Regions from separate parts of the Homo sapiens genome. Here regions 1, 2, 4, 5, 6 and 7 are each linked to region 3. Evidence: promoter capture Hi-C in human tissues and cell types (Jung and others, 2019). All regions are on one chromosome and are shown on one strand. Each heading gives the region's core, a stretch centred on a gene start or on the middle of the fragment in contact. The rest is flanking DNA. Distances are from core to core; before and after follow the strand shown. Region 1 has its middle 8.3 kb from the start of ADNP2. Region 2 overlaps PARD6G (par-6 family cell polarity regulator gamma). Region 3 holds the start of CTDP1 (CTD phosphatase subunit 1). Region 4 has its middle 3.9 kb from the start of PARD6G-AS1. Region 5 overlaps ATP9B (ATPase phospholipid transporting 9B (putative)). Region 6 overlaps ATP9B (ATPase phospholipid transporting 9B (putative)). Region 7 overlaps RBFA (ribosome binding factor A).

Evidence for each region. The method cuts DNA at HindIII sites, captures the fragments that hold promoters and counts their contacts. A contact is called where the count stands out against the background at its distance.
Region 1: a contact is called between a fragment that was not itself captured here and the fragment with the promoter of CTDP1 in region 3, in 3 of the 25 tissues and cell types used here (dorsolateral prefrontal cortex, lymphoblastoid cells and spleen).
Region 2: a contact is called between a fragment that was not itself captured here and the fragment with the promoter of CTDP1 in region 3, in 1 of the 25 tissues and cell types used here (spleen).
Region 4: a fragment that was not itself captured here is called in contact with the fragment with the promoter of CTDP1 in region 3 in 1 of the 25 tissues and cell types used here (spleen).
Region 5: a contact is called between a fragment that was not itself captured here and the fragment with the promoter of CTDP1 in region 3, in 2 of the 25 tissues and cell types used here (H1 embryonic stem cells and dorsolateral prefrontal cortex).
Region 6: a contact is called between a fragment that was not itself captured here and the fragment with the promoter of CTDP1 in region 3, in 2 of the 25 tissues and cell types used here (H1 embryonic stem cells and dorsolateral prefrontal cortex).
Region 7: a contact is called between a fragment that was not itself captured here and the fragment with the promoter of CTDP1 in region 3, in 2 of the 25 tissues and cell types used here (IMR-90 fibroblasts and spleen).

What each region holds. Positions count from the first base shown.
Region 1 is chr18:80,099,441-80,102,416 of GRCh38, forward strand. No RefSeq gene overlaps it. Among named protein-coding and RNA genes, the nearest start is that of ADNP2, 8.3 kb to the right of the region's middle. The HindIII fragment of the contact is 4,451 bases long and covers 1-2,976 here.
Region 2 is chr18:80,165,997-80,168,749 of GRCh38, forward strand. All of the region lies in intron 2 of PARD6G (par-6 family cell polarity regulator gamma), which reads right to left. All of the region lies in intron 1 of PARD6G-AS1 (PARD6G antisense RNA 1), which reads left to right. Among named protein-coding and RNA genes, the nearest start is that of PARD6G-AS1, 19 kb to the left of the region's middle. The HindIII fragment of the contact is 6,518 bases long and covers 1-2,753 here.
Region 3 is chr18:79,678,287-79,681,065 of GRCh38, forward strand. It overlaps CTDP1 (CTD phosphatase subunit 1), which reads left to right and starts at 1,517. Exons shown (of 13, transcript NM_004715.5): 1 at 1,517-1,975. The coding sequence starts at 1,662. It overlaps CTDP1-DT (CTDP1 divergent transcript), which reads right to left and starts at 1,459. Exons shown (of 5, transcript NR_136643.1): 1 at 1,108-1,459. RefSeq lists enhancers at 642-1,149, 1,150-1,658. The HindIII fragment of the contact is 29,025 bases long and covers 1-2,779 here.
Region 4 is chr18:80,142,642-80,145,341 of GRCh38, forward strand. No RefSeq gene overlaps it. Among named protein-coding and RNA genes, the nearest start is that of PARD6G-AS1, 3.9 kb to the right of the region's middle. The HindIII fragment of the contact is 4,554 bases long and covers 1-2,700 here.
Region 5 is chr18:79,312,450-79,315,156 of GRCh38, forward strand. All of the region lies in intron 15 of ATP9B (ATPase phospholipid transporting 9B (putative)), which reads left to right. Among named protein-coding and RNA genes, the nearest start is that of NFATC1, 82 kb to the right of the region's middle. The HindIII fragment of the contact is 3,897 bases long and covers 1-2,707 here.
Region 6 is chr18:79,333,116-79,335,926 of GRCh38, forward strand. All of the region lies in intron 17 of ATP9B (ATPase phospholipid transporting 9B (putative)), which reads left to right. Among named protein-coding and RNA genes, the nearest start is that of NFATC1, 61 kb to the right of the region's middle. RefSeq lists a silencer at 2,685-2,811. The HindIII fragment of the contact is 8,839 bases long and covers 1-2,811 here.
Region 7 is chr18:80,048,888-80,051,587 of GRCh38, forward strand. It overlaps RBFA (ribosome binding factor A), which reads left to right. Exons shown (of 7, transcript NM_024805.3): 7 at 1-1,764. Among named protein-coding and RNA genes, the nearest start is that of RBFA, 16 kb to the left of the region's middle. RefSeq lists an enhancer at 1-850. The HindIII fragment of the contact is 5,421 bases long and covers 1-2,700 here.

The DNA.
Region 1 (2,976 bases), core at 120-2,619, 420 kb after region 3:
TTTAATTGACTCACAGTTCCACCTGGCTGGGGAGGTCTCAGGAAGCTTACAATCATGGCAGAAGGTGAAGGAGAAGCAAGGCACCTCCAATATGGTGGCAGGAGAGAGAGAGAGAACTCACTGGAAACTGCCACTTTTAAACCATCAGATAGTGAGAACTCCCTCACTATCAGAAGAATGACATGGGAAACCACCCCCGTGATCCAATCACTTCCCACCAGGTTCCTCCCGTGACACACGAGGATTACAATTCGAGATGAGATTTGGGTGGGGACACAGAGCTAAACCATATCACAGTTCTTGTCTCCCCATTTGACCTCCTTGTTCCTGCTTCCATGCAGACATTGCTGCTGTCTGAGAATGCATACTTCCCAGGCAGCCAATTAGCATTTTAGGAGATTCTGTTCCTCTCCACTTACTGTTCACGCTGCAATGCCCTGAATCCTCCTGCTGTCATGCCCCTGCCAAGGAAAGGGAGCCTCAAGGGAGTGCTACCTCAGCCAGGGAGCCTTCTGTAACTTTTTAGGTTCACTGGAGACCTCGATGGAGAACCCTGACCTAATACTATTTGTGAATGGATTGTAGCTCAAAAGTGAAGCTGGGGGTGGTCAGGTAGGATGTGCTATCACCACCTTCTATTCTTTGTTAAGGATATCATCCTCTCCCGATGTAAAATCAACCCTGATGGCCAAGCTCACTGTGTTTACTAGAGATTGTCAGACAGTCAGAGTCCAGAGTGGCTGCACACAGAGGCAGCAGGTGGGCTTTGGGAGCAGCACACAACTGTGGGAAGCTTTGGAAACAGAGGAGGTTTCTCACTTCTACTGGGACCCCCATCCAAAATGGATAAGTTCAGAAGCTTTTAGCTGGACTCCTACTTCCTAAAGAGGTGAGGCCTTTCCCTTCTATTAAGGTTGAGGCCTAGGCAAGAAGAGACACCATGGAAACTAAAGGAAATACTTGGTCCTCATGCCAAACAGTTTTAACAAAGGCTGTGATCCTAATCTAACCCCTAAAGAATAAACCCCTGGAGGGATTCAAAGAGGCCACTATAAGATATCCACTATTATGGAAGAAGCCCGGTTGTACCGTTACTCAGATAATCTCTGGCACTTCTAAGAAGGCCTGTTGGTGGTACTAGATGATTTCAGATGAATATTGGCTAAATTTCTCAATGAAACTACTGCTCATGGTACAGACAAATTGGTTACTATCTTAAATCAATATTGGTGGGAGAACTTTAAAAAGATAGTTGAGATTATTTTAGGCACGTGTTATGACCTGTCGACAATATAATCGTGGAAAAATCCGTAAAGATGGAACATGGCCAGGGATTAAAATCTCAAGAGCCCCGTGAGCATCTTCAGATGGTGATATGGTTTGGCTCTGTGTCCCCACCCAAATCTCATTTTGAATTGTACTTCCATAATTCCCACGGGTTGCGGGAAGAACCCAGTGGGAGAGAATTGAATCATGGGGGCGGTTTCCCCATGCTGTTCTCATGGTAGTGAATAAGTCTCATGAGATCTGATGGTTTGATAAGGGGAAACCGTTTCACTTGGCTCTCCTCTCTTTTGCTGCCAGCACATGAGACGTGCCTTTCACCTTCTGCCATGATTGTGAGGCCTCCCCAGTCACGTGGAACTCTAAGTCCAATAAACCTCTTTCTTTTGTAAATTGCCCAGTCTCATGTATGTCTTTATCAGCGGTGTGAAAACAGACTAATACAGGTGGATTTTACCTGGCTTCTGCCCGCCGTGAGAGTTGAGGATGTTTGTTATTGCATGTCTGTTTTCAGGGTGGGTTAAAATATTTCCTTACCAAAAAGCCACAGCCCTTACAGTTCCTAAAAAGCTGCTTGCTTTCATGTTTCCAACCTGGAGCATCTCAGCTTTCACATCAAGTGACCAAGGCACACACTCTATGGAGCCATTATAAGAGGATCCTATAAAGTGTTACCTCCTACCCCCAAACCACACTGCCTTCACTACCCATATATTCTGAATAGATTGAGAGAGCCAATGGCATCCTTAAATTAAAGGTAGGAAAAATTTCAGAAACCCTGGAGCTCCTTTGGCCAAAGGTAATCCCACTCCCCTTCAGGCCGTATGGTTCCCTCCTTCAGGGTGACATCAATTACCCTCTGAACTGGTGCTATAGACTGAATGTCTCACCAAAACTTGTATGTTGAAATCCTAACCACCAATGTGATTTATTAAGAGTGGGGTCTTTGGGAGGTGAGTAAGTTATGATGGTGAAGCCCTCACAGATGGGGTTAGTGCCCTTATAAACAGAGGTCCAGGGGAGACCCATAACTTCTTCCACCATTTGAGGTGATGGTGAGAAGATGGCCTTCGATGATGACCTAGGACCTCACCAGACACTGAATCCGATCACTGCCTTGATCTTGGACTTCCCAGCCTCCTGAACTGTGAGAAATAGATGTCTGTTGTTTATAAGCCACCCAGTCTGGTATTTTGTTATAGCAGCCTGAATGGACTAAGACAACTTGTAATGCATTTAGGGATTTCATCTCTGATACTAGCCTCTGCCCTGCTGCACCCAGACGAGCAAAATACTGGTGATGTTCAATATTCAACAGCCCCCTTCTTACAACATCTTCCTAAATAGCTTCTTCATGATCTTCAACCTGGAGATTTTGTCTGTTAGAAGAGATGTCTGAGAAAATTGCTCTTAAATTGTGTTGGAAGGGACTTACCATCTACGTTAACAACAACCACAGCAGTGAAACTCCAGTAACATTTCACAACTTGCTAAAGAAGCAATCCAGAATCCCACACAATTGGAAGCCTCTTCCAAGAGCAGACCTCACGCTTTAGAGATTCCCCACAAGGAACCCATCTTAGGAAGTAGGAAGCTGACTCAAGACCTTTAGAACAAGCTCAAACAGTGGAAAGTTTCTGCTTAAGACATTCAAGACTCTGATTCCTGTTTTAGTTTTCATCTTTTGCCTAT
Region 2 (2,753 bases), core at 210-2,709, 490 kb after region 3:
GCTTCCAGACAGCGGAGGCTGCAGTGAGCTGAGATCGTGCCATTGCACTCCAGCCTGGGCAAGAAGAGCAAAACTCCATCTCAAAAAAAAAAATTATCATTTCCGCTTATTTCCTAACATAGCTACCACTTTGTCACCATTTGGACCTGTAAACAAATGTGACTGTTCCCTTGTATTTTTCCTTCTGAGATGAAGGCAGTCATGTCAGCGGCACACAGCCTCAGCTCATGGACACCGTATGGTCAGGTCGGCACCAACACAGCACACCACCCCAATCATGAGTGTGTTCCTCCTCTCTGCCGCACCCCAAGCAGAACAAAGGCCCAGATGCAGGGCTGCAAGTGTCTCTCTCAGCAGCCCCACTGCATTCTGCTAAGCAGGCGACACAGTCTGGGGCACGTGTGCCATGGCAGACACTGCTGGTGTGACCCTCGGTCATGGGGGCATCAGGACGCCTTGTCTCAGTGGAAAATCTCCACCTCCCTTAGAATTTAAAGGCGTCAAGTTCATTGAAAGCGATCAGTTACAGCCTCCTCCATGGTCAGATCTAGTTGCCCCAAACACAACAGCTCCGTGGCAGCTTTTTTACAGCAGCATTTTCAAGTTTCTGGTAAATGTCCTCTGTAGAGAGCGTCAGACAAGCAGGGGAGGTACGTGCCCCTTTCATCCTGTCCTGGCTCCTTACATCCTCAGAGCACGAGACAGTCCACAGGGTCCTCACTCCCCATGTCCACCTTCCCGGGGAACTTCAGGGGAGTGCATAGCCCTCCCTGCAGACCAGGAAGGTCTGGTCCTCCCCCGACCATAAGGGGGCTGTTCTCACAGAAGTCCCTTCAGGGCCCCTTCTCCACACCACAGCCACCTCTTTTGGGGCCCCACAACTGCAAACACTTGAGGATCCAACAAACCAGAGCCCCCTTTGATCTCAGTCGTGCTGGCCAGACCCTAACATCCCATGCTGACCCCTCTGGCCTTGGCCCTGTGCTCCAAGGGAGTTTCAGCGCATCTAAAGGTGCAGGGCTCCGTGTGTCACCGTATGGAATAATTACCACTTTTCAGGGCAAGACAATGGCCAATCAAAACAGTGACAGTTCACAATTACAAGTGACACCCATTGGGCCTCACAGGTCACATCCCTGCTGTGGGTCCTCTGTTGTGGTTCCTGCCTGAGAGCATCATGTTGCGTGTGGACGTGTGTGCAGGATAACACGTGGGCAGTGTTGTGTGTGGACCTGTGTGCCGGATAACACATGGGCAGTGTTGCGTGTGGACGTGTTGCAGGATAACACATGGGCAGTGTTGTGTGTGGACCCGTGTGCAGGATAACACATGGGCAGTGTTGCGTGTGGATGTGTGTGCAGGATAACACATGGGCAGTGCTGAGGACAGGGCACGGCTCTTCATGCAGCAGCTCACTCAGGGCAGCAAGCTTGGAGCAGGTACTCCTGGGGACAGGGACACAGGCTCAGGGATTCAGGGCCCCGGAATGGCCTGGACAGGGAAGGTCTTTTGTGTAACCCCCATGACAGGCAAGGCAGCAGCAACGCTCCACCATGTTTCCAGACAGACTTGGGGTCCTGGGAGGAGGCGCTGCAGAGGGTGGAGCTGGGGCCATGAGATGTACCCAGGCCTGTCCTCTCTTCCTCCCCCAGCGTCTCTGATGCTCTGAGCCACGTAGGGAGGACGACCATGGGAACATGGCCTAAGATGAACGCCCAGGGGATTTCTGAGCAGCAGGGAGTGTATCCCCTCATGGTGCAGCACCTCTCAGCAGCAGGCACACAGACCACCCTGTACAAAGGCAGGTTCTGAACCCCTGGGCCTGGGGTGCAGCTCAAGGACACTCAGGTGAGGTTGATGCCATGGGTTCATAAACTAATTCTGAATGACAGGAGGTTGATGAGCTAAGTAATGTCTACCACTGTCAAATGGCTGTGTAAGCTGAAAGATGAACACGTTCATAGGCAGGGGGCAAAAGAGCCAGTGGCTCCGTGGAGGAAACGGGCCGACACCCCACTTGGAGGAGGGCCAGCAAGTGCATGCGACTCTGGTTCTTCCTGAACTCTTGAAGAGATGGGCCGGCCGTGGTCTGCACCCTGAACCCCCTCCCCAGCATCCAAGGGCCCAGGGTGCGTTTGGTGCCAACCACCCCGCCTGCTTCCAGTGAGCTGCAGCTCAGGTGAGAGAACACACAACCTCAGCCTGTCTGCAGTGGGAGGTGCAGGAAGTACTGCCCGCATGCAGCTGCGGTGGTATGGGGACGAGGTGACTGAATTTCAGACAACAATCCGTTTCTCCATCTCTTTAAATATGAACCCTTGCATATGGACTTCATTAGTGAAAAATTCCAAACTTTCTTAGAAATAAAATTTGTTTTAAAGAATACCCCATTTCTAAAATTCCAACTTTGATTTCTAAAATACCTTTTTACAAGAAAAAAATTGTCACTGCTTCTTTTTCAAGCAATATGTTAAATCTGGTATTTTCCACAAAGTAAACAATTCAAGGAGTCACATTTTTTAGGCAACTGTCTAACCACCCTCTCTCCCCATATCCTGTTTTCAGTCAAATTATGTTTGTGTGTGTGTGTGTGTGTGTGTGTGTGTGTGTGTATGTATATGTATAAACTTTTTTTTTTTTGGAGACAGTCTCGCTCTGTCACCCAGGCTGGAGTGCAATGGCACAATCTCGGCTCACTACAGCCTCCACCTCCCAGCAATTCTCATGCTTCAGCCTCCTGAGTAGCTGGGATT
Region 3 (2,779 bases), core at 267-2,766:
CTGGTGGCAACAGCGCCACAAACAGCTATAAATTAACCTAATGACGCCACAATGGACACTATACCCACACTCAATAGCTGAACAACATATAGTCAGTCACTAATCAATGTTATTTCTGTAAACCAGTGAGAATTCCTCACAAACAAGTTCCTATTAGTCCACTCCCTGGCCCCCTTTTTTGCCTTTAAAATCCACTGTTAACTGCTAATCGGAGTACACATTCAGGGCGCCTTGAATTTGTGCTCAAGTGTGGCCCAAATAAACTCTCTACTTAGAGAAACTGTGTCTCCGCTCGTTTTCAGGCCGACAGTTTCCAAAATGTTAGTATTCAGCCTAACATGAGAAAAGTCACCATATAAAAGTGAGGGGGGAAAAGCAAATACAGGATAATCTCAATTGTATATAAAATTTATATACGTAAGGACAAAGATACATAGTAAAAAAAAAATTCTGGCAGGTATTAAGGCTGAAAAAATTAAAACAGTCCAGAGCGGTCTGGCTCAGGCCAGCCTGGGCCTGCCGAGTAGCTGGGACCTCAGCCACCGCGCCTGGCTAAGTATTAATGAATCTGTTTTAGAGATAGGGTCTTGCTACGTTGCGCAGGCTGGTCTCCAACTCCCAGGCTCAGGTGATCCGCCCGCCACAGCCTCCCGAAGTGCTGAGCCTCCCAAAGTGCTGAGACTACAGGCCTGGCCGCCCGCCCGCCAGCTTAATTCACGTAAATTCCAGACAAACGTAGAAAGTGGCTCCTTTAGTAAGCCACTTGCGGCTGCTGCTCATCAGGGTTCGCCTGGGGCCACTGAGACCACGCGCCGGTGCCCGCCCTCCCGCTGCGGTCCGATTTTCTGAACCAACCAGGCGCTTCCGGGCGCCTTGCCCCAGACGGGCCCACCGCCTGCGCGGGCCGAGGGCGGCGCACCTGCCCCTGCGCTTCCGCATCGAAGGTGAGGTCGGAGGAAGAGAAGACCGCAACCCCCAAGCTCCCGCGGCGTGGGGTCCGGGGGGGGACACGAGGCGGGGCCACCAGGACGCCGACAGCCTCACGTCTCTGGGCCCGCGGCGCGCAAGGCATGCCGGGACCCGTAGTCCCGCGACGTTGCGACTCACAGTGCGCGATGGGAGTGGAGGAGAGCGGCTCGCGGTGCATGCCGGAACTCGTAGTCTCGGGATGCTGGGTCTCAGCGCGTGATGGGGTAATGGCACGCAGGCCTGCGTTGAACGCTGGGACTCGTAGTCCCGCCATGCTCTGTCCGCGGTGCACGCCGGGATACGTAGTTCCGAGCGCGCCAAGACCGTCACTGGGACTGGGCGACAGCGGCCCGCGTTGCATGCCGCTGCTCCACGGTGCCGGCGCTCCGAGGAAAAGTAGGTAGGGCTCAGGAACGCAGTTCTTCACGGCCGGCACGCAGGGTTGGTCCCAGGACGGAGCCGGCTCCGGCCCCGCGCGGCGCTCGTATTTACACGCGCACGTACGCACGTACGCGGCGCCCTTGCGTGACGTCACGCGCCCTCCAGGAAGTCGGCGCGGGCTAGGCGACGGGTGGAAGCCGGTACCGAGAGGAACTACAGCGTCGCCGCCTGGGTTGTGTCGCCGCGGTAGGCGCTGCGCTCTGAGCGCAGCGCAGGCCCCGTACCGACCGCCCGCCCGCCCTCTGTCCGCGATGGAGGTGCCGGCCGCGGGTCGCGTTCCTGCCGAGGGCGCCCCGACGGCGGCTGTGGCCGAGGTGCGCTGCCCGGGGCCCGCGCCGCTGCGCCTGCTGGAGTGGAGGGTGGCGGCGGGCGCGGCCGTGCGCATCGGCTCGGTGCTGGCCGTGTTCGAGGCCGCCGCCTCCGCGCAGTCCTCCGGGGCCTCTCAGTCCCGTGTAGCCTCCGGGGGCTGCGTGCGCCCCGCGCGGCCGGAACGCAGGCTGAGGTCGGAGCGCGCGGGCGTGGTGCGGGAGCTGTGCGCGCAGCCGGGCCAGGTGGTCGCCCCAGGGTGAGTGTGCTGAGCCGGGCGGGGCCGAGGGCGGGCGGCTCCGGGGAGGGATCCTGGAGGACCCCCGGGCTGCTGCGTCCGCGGTGGGCAGGGGCGCCCCTGGTGAGGGAGCGATAAAGCGGGACGCAGGCACTGCGCTTCTCCCCTAAAACTGGATAGTCACCACCTGTGGTTTTACCAACGGGGAGCATTTTGAGATAAAAGGAAAGGGTCCTGCGTAGCGACACGAAGTTACTGTTTGGAAAAGCTATGTTTGTTTCTTTCTTTCTGCAGTGATAGTCCCCGCCCCTTCCTTTAGCTCCACCTTTGTGACTTAGGAAAACTCATGGGTGGCTGTGAGCACAAGAGTCATCAGGCAGGCTCCAGACCTGTTATTGAAATATAAACTGTTGGGTGTGTGCACATCTTTAAATTTTTGTAAACTTTGTGAAACGCAGTTGTAAAACCTGGTGCAGTTCTGTTTCGTGGCTAAGGAACGGGCGGAACCCAGGCCTGCAGCGAAGGCAGTAGCCCCGTGGTTGACCACAGTGGGCATTGTCGCAGGCTGCTTCAGGGTGACGTGGGCGTTGTGACAGACTCCACAGCTCTCAGTAGCTGTGCTCTGACCCCAGAAGGGGATATGTTTCCGTAGCACCGAAGTGTCCAGCCATGTTTGAATCTACCCTTGTGTTCTGGGATGGGCGGGCAAGTGGACACGCGTGTGCGCCTGGCTCTGGTAGTTTTGATTGTGAGAACAGAAACTCCAGGGAGAGGTGGACACTCCAGCCCGCAGTGGGCCGGGCGTGAGCTCCCTCTGGGAAAGGT
Region 4 (2,700 bases), core at 26-2,525, 460 kb after region 3:
CTATGTGCCAGGTGCCATTCTAAACATTTTGCATGTTAAATTTGATAGTGACAATATATTAGTGACGAAGAATGATAGTCCTGAGTTAGTGAAAACAACGATAAAAAAATGCATGCAGTTTTGCTGTTTAGATTCTCTCTGCTGAATTTTCATGAACTAAGCAACAAAATTGCCATCTATGAAGTACTGCTGGAAGTTTCTCTTATGGTTATTAAGTGTCCAGTTTCTTCAAGCTAATTTCTTTTCATAGGTGGTGAAAGTAAGTGTGAGATGTTTCTGATGATGAGGGCTTACTTGGTAGCACACCTGCTAACTCAGGCTTCTGCAAGTTCGGCTTTCTGTTGTGCAGATGCTACACCACAGCTTTAGAATTCTGATTTTTGATCATTTGTCCTAAGTACTAAGTCTTTAATATTAACTGCAAGTTTAAATGTCATTTTAGCAATATAGAGGTTATGTAGGGAAGCTGTTTTCATATTTTGTGAATGTGCCTAAAAATACATTACTTAGAACAGTACCCAGCCCTTCACTTTCTTCAGATCCTAAACTCAGGAGTTTCTTAATTTATGATCCATGAACTCCCTTGGGTAAAAAGTGTAAATATGTGACCTAGAAGGTTGGAAAAATGTTAAAGTCTAGAATATTATCAGATTTTTCATAATAGAGAGTTAAAATGAGAATGTACTTAACTACCAACCTCAAAGACCTATGCTTATATGGGGACTGCTGTCTAGGAGACCACCTTATAAAGTAGATGAAACGCCAGAGCCTGTGGTGTCTGAAAGGGATCTTTAGGCCCATCATGGTGTCCAGTTCAAAACAAATACTAATACCAGTCATTCACGCAAATGATTCAGCTGTGCATTTTGAGAGGAAAAATATATGTAAGGTTGCTAAACAGTAGCTAGTGTTGTTCTTCATGGCCTTTTAAAGAGGGTGCTCCAGACCCACTTATCTTCATTTTGCTCATCACCAGCAACATGATTTCTTTTTTTTTGCATGCTCATCTCTGAACTAAACATTATTTCTTTTAAAAAAGAAAATACATAAAGTCCTTTTCAGAAGGGAACTTTCCGATAAGAATTTAAGATATTTAAAGTGTAAACTAAACTTTGGCAGCCACATAGACGTCTATGTTTGCTGTATGCAAACTAAGCTGTGAGGTCATACTTTCAAATACAAATACAGAATTAATTGCAATGAATCAATGTATTTTTTTTCCAGAAATTGTGTAGTTTCCTACAGTTTTGAACCCATGATATGGAAAGTTTAATGTTAAATAATTTGTCATTCACCTAAAAGTGCACTAGAAAAAATAGAACATTAGCAATGAATCATAAGGCTTTAGTGGTTCAGTGGTTCTTCTGACAGTAATCTTTCTGTGTTAGATGTATGTGTATCTCGAAAGAGTCATAAAATTCATAAAAACATCCTGTGAGAGTCACAGATCCATTCACTCGTTGGACTTCCTGGCCTCCTACCAAGCAGCTTGTTTAGAATGGGAAGACTGAATATATGGAAAAACCACACAAGACAGTTTGCTGAAAATAAAAACAATTCAAACTCCAAGCATCACATATATATAATTAGGATCCCAAATTTGGACTCTTATAAGCTACAAATGCTTGAAAGAGTCCCTGTGTAGGCCCAGATTAGACGTCTCATTACAACAAGGAAAGTGATCTTTGGTCCTAAAAAGGATGGGAGATTCATCCACCGTTTGTTATTATATTGTGGAAAACAGCTTATGAAAATAACTGGGAATTTATAAGAGGTCATTTTAAAGAGATTAGGAATTTTTTAGGGAAGGTCATTTTTGGCTATTAAAACATTTTTCTAGGTTTTATATGTGCTTTCAAATGATTAAATATATCAGTAAGACTACACGAAAGGAGAGGACAGAATTGAAGGGGAGGGCAAGGATTTTTGGAATGCACTTGGGAATTCCAAGTTCAGCCCTGCTCTGTTGCCCTGCTCTGTCCCCTGCTCCCATTTCCAGCCCCACGACCCCTTTGGGATGAAGCAGCTTGGGTGTCTAATTGTGTTGGTTCTAAGGCTGCCACTCTTCTGGTTATGTCTCACATGTTGTTAGAAAATTGATAACCTCATCCCAGAACTGCACATTGTATTTACAGTGGTTCTCTGTACCCCCATTTCCTAGTCACAAACGACTTCACTTCTGACTTCATTTTTTATTCATAGGTGATAGTAGTGATCATCTTTGTCTAATAAGCTCCTAATTGAGAAGTGAGCAGAATACATCTGTATCAACTCCCAGTGCTGTACATTTTCTAGCCATTTCCTAGCTATTTGTAGCATCGGTTTTTTGTTTTTGTTTTTTTGCTTTGATATAATATTCCGTGTTTAACTGGTTTGATAAATTAGGGTAAAAGTTGAGATACTAAAAATAGATGTGTTGCTACTAAAATGCTAAACATGGTTTCAGTTCAGTATCTTATGAAAAACAAAGTTCAGTATGAAATCTGTTTAGTAATAAAGTTAGACTGTCTAGGGACATCACCATGTCTATCAGTTCTTACCTATTTGAGTCCTACTTAGAAATCCTTAAAAACATTTTTAGAATGCACATGGTTTTGTCTAAATTAAACTTCTAGTTTCCAGGGTCAAAATACTTATCCATAATGTCTGAAGGACTTGGTATAATTTAACAATATCCTGAATCTAATTTCTCAACACTAA
Region 5 (2,707 bases), core at 202-2,701, 370 kb before region 3:
GGCTGCCCTCACCCCAGACCAGGGGTCCCCAGCTGCCCATTGGCACGCGGGACTCCCATGTGTCTTCTGGGTGGGCATCCCTCTCCGTGTTTTCGCAGGTTCTGAGTAGCAGGCTTTATCTTCCTTACGCCACATCTGCCTTCTTTTCAGGGGCTCACAAGCGTCGCCTGCTGAGCGAACCTTGGCTGTGTGGGAAGATGGTGCGGGGAGCTACTGGTCAAGTGGGAGGAGGGGAGTAAAACACATCTGTAGGAATATTGGTCCTTAAAACTATATTAGTGGAAGTTTAAGTAGGAGCTAGTTTCCTATAGTTTAGCAAGGCCATGTCCCAAAGTTTAGATGGTATTTGCCTTTTTGGTACAATGTGAAATTACGATAAAGAACTTAAGTTCCTTCTTGTGAATCACATTGTCACTTCCCTCTTTTCAGAAAGTAATTGGCAAAGTCTCTGAAAATTGGGATCAGTTGAAGTATTAGATTTCAGAAAAGCTCCAGAATACAATGTCGTCATCGTATAGAGTTTTTCAACTTTGAGGAAATGTGGAAACCCAAGCTCCACTCTTCCCACTCCCTGTCAGCGCGCTGTTGGCTACACCTTTCTGTCAGTGGGCACGATTGTTAAGCTTCCTTTAGCCATCAGCCCTGTTACAGTTCATAGATTGTGTTGACTGATAGATACGTAAAAATCTCTGTAGCTAAACTCAGAACCACGTTTGGAATTGGGGTGTGTGTATGTGTCTCAGATCCATTTATTTAGTAAAAGAGAATCTGAGCGAAGAGGCGTAGTTCCACAATCATAAGCAAATATGGGCATTTAGACTGACAAGACGATGAGTTGAGACTTGTAAGATTTATCAGTTGCTGTCTTCTTAGCATTCTAGTGTGGGCTGTGAGACAAACACAGGTCATGAGCAACCGCTCTGTAAGAGGAAGCAAGCCCCCATATTCCTATCAAGAAGGGGTCGAACACATTGTTTTTTCTGTTATGGCATTCTGGAAATTCTCAAAAATGTCATGTGATTATGTATTGAAAAAGAAGGATTTTCCTGCCATAAATATGAGAAACCTAGACTAGAGATTTTTCCCAAAGAAAACTGTATTTGAAGTTTTAAAAATACTGTATTACATATTTACCATATTACCTTATTCCACATTTTTTATTCAAAGTATCTGGGATTTTTTATTTTTAAGTTTTAATATAAGTCATAACACTTTTTGAATCTTAAATTGGGAATTCACAATAGAGATTTCATTGACTCCAAGATTATTAAAAATTTAGAGAAACTATAGACATTGCTAACCTTACAGTTAAATTTTTTTACTTGTCTAAAATGTCTTTCTACTTGGGAAATTGGACAATGATAAAAAATAGCAGAACATTAAATAACCTTTTAAAAATCCCTAAAACGTATTTTAAATCTGAAAATGAAAACAATAGACTTCATCATAATTTTTAAAGAGCTCTATTGATGCAATGTTTGCAAGTCCCTAAAGCCTCAGGAAAATCATCTAAATGGTTCATTATTTAGCTTATTGAACTTTGCTGCAGTTAGGTTGACGGATGATAGTAGTGTTTCCCGATCACCAAAGTACCGTTTTAAAAGCATTTTTTATCGAATAAAGTGCTTAGAATATTGCACCCTGGAGCTTTATTTAGGGAAATGGTTCAATTGATGTTTTCTATTTAACCTCAGCTCTGACCTATCACAACATCTATGGTTAATAAGCAACATTATCATTTGAGAGACTTAACTAGTTTCATCCACTGTGCACCCATACCATCCTCTTAAAACCCTGTTTGTGGCGCTGTGTCATCTCGGTCTTTAGGAAGGATGCAGTTTAGTAAGTAGAGTGCCCTAGTTTTAGTCGCTGATACACAGTTGCTGTTCTTCAGGAAATAAGCAGTCTTTGATTTTCATTTTTCCTGAAGGAGAAACAATCTTTCTCCTTACCTACACATGTGCATAGATGAATCTGTATTATACAAATAATTGAATTCTGAGGAATTAATTTTAAATCCTTAAAGGTCCTGTGAGGCATAAGCAATTAAACACTTGAAGTGTGATGTGTCTTGTGTGGTATGTGTGGTGATACGATACTTGAAGGTAGATGTGATGGTGATTGTCAAAGTGTAAATAACTGATTTCGTATTCATAATGTGGAACCTACTTATGCCCCGGTCATTGTTTCTTATGATAAGTGATCAATATTTCATTTTCTCTAAGAGAGTAGAAAGTTCTGCTTGCCTATCACTTGCTCTCCGCAGGCTCAGCATAGCAGGCTCTAGCTGAGCAAACGTTAAATGCTCTCTGGAAGTTCCCTCACAGAATTAAAATTCAGCCCTGTTTAACTGTTAGGGCATATGTCCAGTGCAGTCGCAGGACACCAGCACCGAACTAGTGGCATGAGCCCTCGGAGAAGGACAGAAGCTCGGTGGGCAGAGCCTCTGAGTGCAGAGGGTGTCAGCTCAAGCGCTGAAGGCGTGGGGTGGAAGGAACTTTGAAGACCGCCGGCTTCTTTTGGTCCAGAAAGAGTGACTGTGATTCTTAATGACTGCTTATTCCTCTAGACTAGCTGTTTAGTAGTCTCATTCTTTTCCCTCTGTGGCTGTGTTTTCTCATGTTGGTAAGTTCCGTATTTAAATAGTATTTCAGAATGTAGCTGTCATCGCCTGACTCCAGTATTTATTTGCAAGAATCAGCTATAA
Region 6 (2,811 bases), core at 121-2,620, 350 kb before region 3:
GATGATGGGTGGTGACAGGGTCTCTGCGCGTGCCTGGGGGGCCGTGATGTGTTTCCAAATGTGCGGCTGTGCCCGGGTGGTTTCTCAGCACTTTTCCTGGGCAGTGCTGAGAAAGGTCAGATGCCCAAAGTCCCAGCTGTCTGGGCTGCAACTGCCATCTCTGGCTTTCTGTTGCTGTCTGAGGAGCTGGCCTCTCCACTGCATGTCCACCCCAAGGGCTGGCGGAGCCTTCCTTAGGGACACTGTCATGTTCTTCTCCCTGCCATGCAGATTCTCAGTGTTCAGCACAACATTGCACAAACCAGGTTTACTAGTATTTGATCTTCTTTTCCGTAAACAAGTGTAGCTAATTAACTTGTTTAGGATATCCTTGCTTAAGTGTCTGCATTATCAATGTTCACATTTTTAAAGTTTTAAATATACATTGAAAATAATGTTTTTGATTAGTTGTTCTCTAGCTGTAACGTAGAGCTTTATTCTCCTTGGAGGTTACCAAAATAGCCTCTAAAAGACCTCTCCCCTCACTGTGTGTCATGGTGGCAGGGCAGGTCTTGGAGGTTACCAAAATAGCCTCTAAAAGACCTCTCCTCTCGCCGTGTGTCATGGTGGCAGGGCAGGTTAGCAGCTGCACCACCTCTGCGGGCTCATTGCGGCCGTAGCTAAGTTGGGAGTGTCCACCTGAGCTACAGAAAGTTCCTGGGGCTTCAGGAAGATGTGATTACCACTGATTTCTCTGTATTGTCAACCCCAGTGTCAGAGACAGGAGCTTTGTAAACATGGTTAAAATTTGAAAGAGTTGCTCAAATTTGAAATTTGAGAGGGAGTCAACAACATCTGGATGGAGAGTCTTAAGCAGCGAATCTTTCGGGACCTTCCAGAGCACAGAGAAGCCCTCTCTACAGGGAGGGTCACTGTTAAAGCATCTTAAAGTATGTTAGCCCTAATAAGTTGAAACTGCTAGGCTGGGCGCGGTGGCTCACGCCTGTAATCCCAGCACTTTGAGAGGCTGAGGTGGGCAGATGATGAGGTCAGGAGAGCAAGACCATCCTGGCCAACATGGTGAAACCCCGTCTCTACTAAAAATACAAAAAAAATAGACAGGGTGGTGGCAGGCGCCTGTAGTCCTAGCTGCTGGGGAGGCTGAGGCAGGAGAATGGCATGAACCCGGGAGGCAGAGCTTGCAGTGAGCCGAGATCGTGCCACTGCACTCCAGCCTGGGTGACAGAGCAAGACTCTGTCTCAAAAAGAAAAAAAAAAGTTAGAAACTGCTAGATTCAAAAATTGATAGTTATACAGCTTAGTGTTCATTACTTTGGTTTTTTTAATGTACTTTTTATAGAACACACCACAGCTTTAAAGCTTAGGCACACCTCACCCAGCACTTAGTAATCAATTGTAGGGCCTCTCTGTATCCCTGGAAGAGAGCCCGGCTGTCCTGAGCCCCGTCCTGGTCCACACAGCAGAGGGGGGTGGGGTTGTCTCCTGACAGCCCCGACACCCCCTGGGGCTGTCCGGGAGCCCAGCACCCTCCACCCCTGCCTCTTGTCTGCATCCCCCAGACGTTGGCCCCTTGGGCAGGACCGTGTGTGCTCACAGCTAAGTCCTACACACGCCTGGCCCCCAGGAGACCCACCGGCGCCCTCCCTCCCACATCTGCCCAGACGCCCACCCCCCCCTTGTGCCGGATAGGAGACCCACCGGTGCCCTCCCTCCCACATCTGCCCAGTCGCCCACACCGCCTTGTTCCAGGTAGGAGACCCACCGGTGCCCTCCCTCCCACATCTGCCCAGTCGCCCACACTGCCTTGTTCCGGGTAGGAGAGCGGGGTGGGTTTGTTTCTTCACCTGCCTTGCAGGAACACGTGCCCTCACGCGTCTGTTCCTGTGGCCGCATGAGGCCTGTCCCTCTGGGTGTCCTTCACGTCACCACAACCACGTGAGGGAGGAACTGTTTTCACTTTGCACACAAGGAAATGGCACAGAAAGCGCAGAGTTCCAGAAGTGGCTTCTGCCGCTCTGCCAGATTCTCTCCGCTGGCTATGTGGAAATGCAGGATGTAGCTATTAACTATGAGCAGGCTCGTTCAAGCCTTTTAAAACCTGACCCTCGTTCATGTAAGCAATATGGCAGCGTCAACCTCGTGTGGACATCAGGGTCTACTTTTGTAAGTGCAGTTTGAACTTCCAGGACTGGGATGTGTGTCACTGGTATGAGCAGTTTAACTTTGAGAGTGTTACCTCCACACAGGTTTGCTCCTGCACCACCCCTCAGCCTTGTCCCAGAGAGCCTGTTTCTTCACCCATCACCAGCTAAAACTGTTGCACTTTTACCTCTAATGGGAAAGTAGTGTTTTTTATTTTGACACCTTCCCTGACTGAACACGGTTAGCACCGTTTCATGAGCTCATTGCAGGCATTTCCATGTCTTGCTTTAACACGCACATCAGGCCCCGTGACTCCTGCAGGGCTCCCCCAACTCTGGAAGGCGAATGCAGGGTGAGGCTTGTGAGCTTTGGGATCTGGCCGTGTCCCCACCAACCCCAGCTCTCACCGCGGCCCTGCACTCCTGCCCTCCCCTCCATCACTAACTGCGCTTACTGCTCATGATTGGCTGCCCTGCAAGGCCAGTTACATGCACGTTAAAAATAGAGCAAGAAGAACTTACGCAGATTCACGGAGTTAGTCCCAGAGCAACACTCTTATGAGCCCATTTCTATGAAGGAGGAAACAAGTACAGAAAAATGAGGTCGTTTGCCCAAAAACACAAAGTCTGTGGCAGAAACAGGTTTCCGGCCCAGCCACCTGGTTCTAAA
Region 7 (2,700 bases), core at 1-2,500, 370 kb after region 3:
CAGTGCCTCCTAGAAAGTGGAGTGTGGGCACGTTTGCAGGGGATCCAACCAGGCGTCTGCTCAGTGCCTCCTAGAAAGTGGAGTGTGGGCACGTTTGTAGGGGATCCCACCAGGCATCAGCTCAGTGCCTCCTAGAAAGAGGAGTGTGGGCACGTTTCAGAGAAAACTGGCTTAGGCCTCCCTGTTTCTGGCGTGGCCTTCCCTGGGAGCGAGTTAGGGACACGGAAGCTCACCCGCTTCTGAATGGGTCCACTCCTGGGGATTTCCGCGGCCTTCCCTGGGAGCGGGTTAGGGACACGGAAGCTCACCCCCTTCTGAATGGGTCCACTCCTGGGGATTTCCGCGGCCTTCCCTGGGAGCGGGTTAGGGACATGGAAGCTCACCCTCTTCTGAATGGGTCCACTCCTGGGGATTTCCACGGCCTTTCCTGGGAGCAGGTTAGGGACATGGAAGCTCACGCCCTTCTGAATGGGTCCACTCCCGGGGATTTCCATGGCCTTCCCTGGATGATCCACTCCTGGGGATTTTCCGCAGCTCTCCAGATGACGTGCACGCACACTAAACACCCAGAAGTTAGGGAGGCACTGATCCAGTGAAGTCCTCAGATCAACCTTGTGAGCTTTTTACAAGTACCTGTCACTGTTAAACTGCTGATGAAATGTGAAACGACTTCACAGGTTTTCAGTCTGATAAGCTCTCCTGTGTCACTGTCCCTTACCTTGTTAGTAAAGGTCAATGGTTCTCAAAGTTCCGGGCACATCCCCTGGGGGCTCATAAAACCAGACTGTCGGCCACTTCAGCCTTCTGGTTCGCTGTTCCTTGGTAATGCAGATGGCCCAGTAAGCAACTCTACAAACATTAGAACATTTTGAGGTAGACAGGGGAACTTAATCACCCCTTGTAGGCCCCCAGAAGACTGGACCCAACATCCAGCACAATGCCTCTCAGCCTTGGCTGTGCATCTGAAACACCTGCTGTTTGAAGACACCTGGGCCTGGAGACGGGCCAGAGCCACCTTGGTGGTCTGAGTATGAGGCCAGCATTAGAACCTCTGCTCTACGGGTGACTGCCCTGGGTTGATTTTTTTCCAGTATTATCTTTAGTACAGAATCTTTTCCTCTCTAAGGGCCTGAGACCCTCTCTTAGGAATAGAAGTACAGTTTTCTTCCCCACTCCTTTTGTCCAGAAGGAAAACCTGGTTTTACATCAGAAACTTGAGGTACTTTGAAAATTTGCCAGCTGCCTTGAAGGAGAGAGGGCTTGAGTGTATTTTGGGGGAAGAATGAGGGGACAACAGGGCAGGGAGAAGGGACAGAGCTAGAGGAAGGACAGGCCTGTGCCACCCAGGCCAGGGTAAGGGGAGCAGAGACCTTTTGGTTCCTGGTTTGTGACACAGGAAGGGAGGGAACTGGGGAGGACAGGTCATGATCAGTGTTTCCTGATTAAAAATTTTTTATTTTTATTTTTAATTATCATGGGCACAGAGTAGGTGTATATATTTGTGGGGTACATGAGATGTTTTGATACAGACATGCAATGTGAAAAAGCACATCATGGAGACTGGGGCACCCATCCCCTCAAGCATTTATCCTTTGTGCCACAAACAATCCGATTATATTGTTTTAGTTATTTTTAAATATGCAATTAAATTGTTATTGACTATAGTCACCCTTCTGTGCTGCTGCTCTACTGTGGCCTCAAAGATCATAAATGCTGTGGGTGCTGGCAAGATACTGAAATAAATTAATTCTGTATTTCTAAAAATAATTTCATACTTTCTTTTTACAGAAGGAATATATATTCTTTGTTGAAAAATGTTAAAACAGATACCAATAGAATAGAGGAAACAAAAGCCCCATGTAGTCTCAGCTACCAGAGACACCACTGTTAAATTTTGGTGTAGCATCAGGTGCGGTGGCACGTGCTGTTAGTACTCAGGAGACTGAGGCAGGAGGATCACTGGAGTCTGGGAGTTTGAGGCTGCAAGCACATTGATTGCACCTGTGAATAGTCACTGCACTCCATCCTGGGCGACAGAGTGAGGCCCTGTCTCAAAAAAAAGATGGTAACATCAGAATGTTAACCGAGCATGAGGTCCCCATGCCCACATGGGCAGCACACCTGGGAAGCCAGCCCTGATGTCAGTTAATCCTCAGGCCTCTTTGAGGTGTGCCATTTGCCCTAGGGATGTCCTGTATGGCAAAGGGCCTGTTCCAGAGGCACTTGTTATGTTTACCTGTCACCCTCAATCCCATGCCCTCGAGTAGCTCTTGGGCTTCCTTGAGCCTTCGTGGCCCTAATTTTGAGGAGTGCAGCCGTTATTTTGTGGAGTGTTCCTCAGTTTGGGCTTGTCTGGTGTTTCCTCATGATCACATTTAGTACTTGCTTTTTTGCAGGGACATCACAGCAGTGATGCTGTGCTGTCAGTGTTGGGTTGTATGTTCCTGGTGATGTCCACAATGATGAGCTGAAGAAAGGGGTGTCTGTTGGGCTTCTCCCTGTGAACTTACTCTTAAGTATTTACTTTTTGAAACAAATGAAAACAGAGACACAAGACACCAAAACCTCTGGGATACGATAAAAGCAGTGCTAAAACGGAAGCTTATACCATTAAATGCCTACTTCAAACATACAAAAGATCACAAATTAACAACCTAACATTGCACCTCAAGGAACTAGAAAAATAAGAACAAATCAAAG